Linked DNA regions of Homo sapiens: region 2 is linked to region 1. Evidence: promoter capture Hi-C in human tissues and cell types (Jung and others, 2019). All regions are on one chromosome and are shown on one strand. Each heading gives the region's core, a stretch centred on a gene start or on the middle of the fragment in contact. The rest is flanking DNA. Distances are from core to core; before and after follow the strand shown.

The links. Contacts are between HindIII fragments. The study calls those that stand out against the background at their distance.
Region 2: a contact is called between a fragment that was not itself captured here and the fragment with the promoter of CCDC178 in region 1, in 2 of the 25 tissues and cell types used here (dorsolateral prefrontal cortex and lymphoblastoid cells).

Annotation. Positions count from the first base shown.
Region 1 is chr18:33,439,260-33,442,073 of GRCh38, forward strand. It overlaps CCDC178 (coiled-coil domain containing 178), which reads right to left and starts at 1,462. Exons shown (of 23, transcript NM_001105528.4): 1 at 1,394-1,462; 2 at 703-822. The HindIII fragment of the contact is 6,939 bases long and covers 1-2,814 here.
Region 2 is chr18:33,290,459-33,293,272 of GRCh38, forward strand. It overlaps CCDC178 (coiled-coil domain containing 178), which reads right to left. Exons shown (of 23, transcript NM_001105528.4): 12 at 2,701-2,814. Among named protein-coding and RNA genes, the nearest start is that of CCDC178, 150 kb to the right of the region's middle. The HindIII fragment of the contact is 7,615 bases long and covers 1-2,814 here.

The DNA.
Region 1 (2,814 bases), core at 212-2,711:
TATAGAACAGGAAGAAAAATTCTGAGGATGTGGTAACAAATTAGTTGAGTCTAAGGTTGTGTTGAATCTGAGGTGGGAGCAGGAGAGAGAAGTCTGGGTTGTGGATAAAAGCTCTGGCAGCAATCCCAACCCATCCAGGGATAGTGGGTAGACTAACAATCAAACTCATATTTTCGATAGTTCTGGAAATTAGACAGATATAGTTTATAATAAAACTTTATGACTGCAACAGTAAAGTAAGAAGTATTATATATTCAAGATAGAAATACACTAGTTTCTGTACGAATGTCTAAATAACAATTGAACATAAATAGCTGAAAATCCTCTGGATTCTTGGATTTGTCTTACAACTAGTCATGTCTCTGAGTTCTTAAACTTGGTAAGTGGTGTTCTAAAACCTATTACTACAGCAGGACCAAGAAACAATATTTTGAGGGTAGGAGGGAGATGTCAAGAATGCTGTATTTGGGTCAAGATGCCCAGAGCAATCAATACACAACAGATTATCCAATGATAAATAGGAGTGATAAGCTACCAAGTCAATTCACAAATATTTATTGAGCAGTGGATGAATGTCAAGAAAACAATAATAGAAAATGCTTTGAATTGGCAATCGGGAGATTCTTATATTCCTGAGTTTGAAGATTGCTGGATCTGACTTTTGTCAAATCACAAATCAGCTCTGAATATCACTTTTCTCACCTGTAAAGGGGAGGTGTTGGCGTGGATCATCTTATTTGGGGTGCTTTCGAGCAAGCAAGTATAAAATTCTCAGCCTCTCCGCCAGGAAGTTGTTCAGTATTTGACTTGATTGAGCAGACACTTAAAAAATTAAATATCAAGAAAAGAAATCAATAACAGTTCAAAGGAATAATACATGAGCCACCACAAGGCGGCCTTATAAGCAAAATAAAAGTTGAAATAATTATTTTAAAGGAATAAGACGCTAGAGACGCAGTTACAGACAAGACGAAGTTCCTCTAGGCGGCCAGCGGAGGGAGACTCTGCTTCCCTTCCCCCGGCAGTGGGGACTGGGGGACTGGGGGACTGGGGGACTGGGGGACTGGGGGACTGGGGGACTGGGGACAGGGGTTGGAGGACTGGGAAACTGGAGGACGGAGAACAGGGGGACAAAACGACTGGGGGACTGGGGAATTATGGGACTGGGGATTTGGGGAATTGTTTTCAAACGCGCGGGGCAAGGACTCCCCACCGCCTCTGGAAGGGGTGAAGAACTAGTCGACTCTAACTCCCTCAGGGTGGCCAGGGAATTGCATTTGGTTCTCCCGCGGGAGTCGCGCAGGCGGGCGGCCAGGGGGAGTGGGCGCCGCCCGGCAGCGCCCCGCGCCGAGGCACAAGCGCCCGCGCCGAGGCACAAGCGCCCCCGACTCACCGGCTCCGCGCGTTTCCCCGCGCGTCTCCCGGACCCGCGCCTGCCCACCCCTCCGGCTCTGCTGCGGTCGAGGCCCCAAGTCGGTTATCCCGTGTCCAGGCAACCGCGGGGGCGGCGGCGGCGGCGTGAGGAGCGGGCGGCTGCTGCTCCGGGGCCTCCTGGCTCGAGCCCTTAGCCCCCGACTCCCGGCGTTTCGGCGCCCGATCAGCGCTCCAGGCCGCCCCCGCTCCGCCTTCTCCCAGTGCCTTTCCCTTTCTCTTGTAACCGATTTGCCAACCCAACTCCTTTCCCTCTTTACCGGAGAGGGAAGGAGTGGAGACGAGTCAACGCCCCTTCGTACAGCAGTGAGGTTAGAACGTGAGGGGATCACAGACTTCGTCCACCTTCGGGAGGACCGCAGGACCTCTTTCTTTCTTGCCACTTGGGATGATACAACCAGGACTCCATGCGATAACCCCATGTGGTTTGGTTGTGACTTCAGTATTGAGAAACCTCAACAAACTGTTAAGGAAGAAAGAACTTTTCCTAGTGTCTGAAAGTGGGGAAAATGACTAATTCAAGACTAATTCAAGCCATTTCTCTAAGGGTCTGTTTCTTTCAAAAACAAATTTTTGAAGCATTGATCCTTCTGACAAAATACTAAGTGGCAGGCCGGGTGTGGTGGCACAACCCTGTGCCAGGCGTGTCCTGTCCCAGGACTTTGGGAGGCCGAGGCAGGAGGATTGCTTGAGCCCAGTGGTTAGAGGCTGCAGTGAACTGGGATCGTGCCACTGCACTCCAGCCTGGGCGACAGATCAATAAATACATAAATCAGTGGCACAAAATGTATTACCTACATTTTGTTTCTTCATCTGTGAATATACACTGTGAACTGAAATAGGCTTCAGAGGACAGTCGTGTCTTACACTATTGTCACCGTCTTCTTCAATGAAAACAAACACTGGACTATAAACTGAAGATGGTTAAAAAAAAAAAACAGAATCAGAATAAAGATTAGCATTCTCATCCAGAGAAATCATTTTTCCAGGCAACACTGAGAACAGGCAATTGCCTGCCAAGGTTAAATCAGCAAAGTCTATTACTTTAAGAGGCAATTTAATTAGTAATCCTTTCTAAGAGGGGAAAACCAGCAAGTCCGTACCTGGAATGTGGTCCTTTCAGCCAAAGATGAAAAAAAGGAAGCAATAACTAACAAACTGGTGGAAGGTCTTAATCTTAAATTAATATATGCAGAAGCAGAGCTCTTTTTGTAATTAAAAAATGGATTCAAGAATGCACTCCACTTTCCCATCTCCCTCCATTAATTATTAAACTTTGGCTTGTTCTCAATACAATGTTAAATTATAAACCAAATGAATCATTTGCATGCCAGTAAATATGTATTCATGAGGGTTCACAATATGTAAATGTGCATATTAAAA
Region 2 (2,814 bases), core at 139-2,638, 150 kb before region 1:
GGGAAAACAACTCAAATAAACAGAGATAGATCATGGGTATGTTTAGAAGTCCCTATCATACAGATTTGATTTCTTCCCCAATTATTCCATAAGTGGATACAGTTTCAATCATAATTCTAACAAAAAATTTTAAATAAATGAACCAGATAATCCTGAAACCTATATGGAAGGGCAAGAATCAAGAAAAGCCTAGAACTCAAAAGAAAATATAAGATCAGAGGATTCACTATAATAGATAATTAACACCCATTATGGAATTTTCGTGACGTAGCCATGGAGTGTTCAGGTGAAGATGGTCAAATAGATCAAAGTAAAAAGTGAATGGAAAAAGATCCACACAAACATAAAAGCCTAATATGGGACAGAGATAGCACTGATTATAAATATATAAAGAAAACTCATCAGTAAATTGTATTGTAACAACTTGTTTTCTATATTATAAAAAAAGTAACTGGAAACTCACTTCACATTACACCCATACATTAATTTCTTATTAATTATGCATCACATCTGGCAAGTGAAACATGCATTCCAAAAATTGTAGAAATAGCTTTTTATTTCCAAATTTGTAAATAGAAGGCAGAGCGAGAAAAACAACCCTAAATTTTGAACATTCTAAACATAGTTTCATCTAAAACTATCACATAAATATTAAAAGCAGAATTCAGAAACATTGAGAATGAAATAACAGAAAATATTTTTATAATCTCAGGGGTGGGAAAATTTCTTAAACAAGTTCACAAAAGGAAAATGCACAAAGGAATGTATTTATACCTGATACTACATTAAACTGAAACGTCTCTTCATCAGAAGTTACCATAAAGAAATGAAAAAAGGTTGGGTAAATATATTTTTAACATTTGTAACTAGAAAATATTTAGTATCCATGATATATAAATTCTTACAAATCAGTGAGATGACACTCAGTATATAGCAGGAAAATCATGAGCAGGTTTTCACAGAAAAGGAAATACAAATCACCCTGCAAAAGTCATTAAAATATGTTCAGTTCCATTAATAACTAATAACAAACCATAATGAGGTACAATTAAAAAGCCTTATTGTAGAGAAGAATGTCTTTAACTCTAGGTAGGAATGCAAATTGGCATAATAATTTATATATTATTTCCTTTTACTATACTATTATTTATTTTATCTATTATGTTCTTATACAACAGTGAATGAGATATGGCAGAAAAAGAAAGCTTCATCTTCAGGAAAGATGAGTCATAATGAAAGGTCAGATGCTTCCAAGCAGGAGCACACCACTGCTGATTTTAGAGATGAAGAGAACAAACAGCCAGGGAATGCGGCAGCCTCTGAAAACTGAGTGTGATCTCAGGCTGACAGGTGCCAAGGAAACAAAGGCTTCAGTTCTCAAACCATAAGAATTAAATCATGTCAAAACTGCACACCCCAGTTAGAATGGGTACTATCAAAAAGACAAAAAATAACAAATGCTGTTGAAGATGCAGAGAAAAGGTACTCTTAAACGTTGTTGTTGGGACTATAAATGAACACAGCCACTGTGGAGTGGAGATCACAGCAGTATGGAGATTCCTCAAAAAAAAAAAAACCACTAAGAAAAGAATTACATATGATCCAACAATCCCACTGCTGGTTATATATCCAAAGAAAAAGGAATCAGTATGTCAAAGAGATATCTACACCTTCATGTTTACTGTGGCATAATTCACAAAACCTAAGATATGAAATCAACCTGCTTCCATCAATGGATGAGTAGATAAGAAAATGTGATGCACAATGGAATACTATTCAGCAATAAAAAGGAATGAATTCCTGTTATTTGCAGCAACATGGATGGAACAGGAGGGTATTATGTCAAGTGAAATAAGCCTAGCACAGAAAAATGAATACCATATGTTCTCATTCATACATGGAAGCTAAACAGGTTGATCTCACAGAAGCAGAGAGTAGAACAGTGATAACTAGAGACTAGGAAGGGTAGGGGGTAGGGACATAGAGAGAGGTTGGATAAGAGATAAAAAATTATAGCTTAATAGAGAAGTAAGTTTTAGTGTTCTTTAGCACTGTAGAGTGACTCTAGTTAATAATAATTCATTCTGTATTTTCCACGAGGATTTTCAAAATCCTCGAAAGAGGGCGATTTTGAATGTTACCAAAACAAAGAATGCTGAATGTTACCCTAATTTGATCATTACACATTGTATACAGGTATCAAAATATTACACTAGACCCCTTATAAAAATGTACAATTATTATGTGTCAATTGAAACAGAAACCGAAGAAGTTTTTGTCTGAAGTTTTTCTTCAGTTTTTGTTTTAATTGACACACAATAATTGTACATTTTATAGGGGGTCTAGTGTGATATTTTGATACCTGTATACTAAAAATAGTGTTATCCTGGAGTCTCCAGACAGAAGTGCCAGGCTACTGACACCCTGATTTTAGTCTTGCCAGACCTGGGGCAGAGCAACCACTTGAGCCATGCTGTGCCCAGACTTCTGACTTACGAAAAGGTTGAGATAATAAATGGGTCCTGTTTCAAGCTGCTAAATTTGTGGTAATTTGTTATGCAGCAATAGAAAACTAATACAGGCAAATTGGCTAAATATAAAAAAATTGGCCAATTGCTATTTAATTATTGACAAAAAAGTTTACTATTTATAACTCAAAACAAAAATCAGTATTTTTTATTTCTAATATGAAAAACTCACCATTTTTGATAGAGAATGTAATTCATTTTTTGATGACTTTGTTTCCCTTATTGCTTCAGTCACTTCCTCTTCCTTCTCCTCAATATTAGTATTAACATTTATCACTGATGAAGA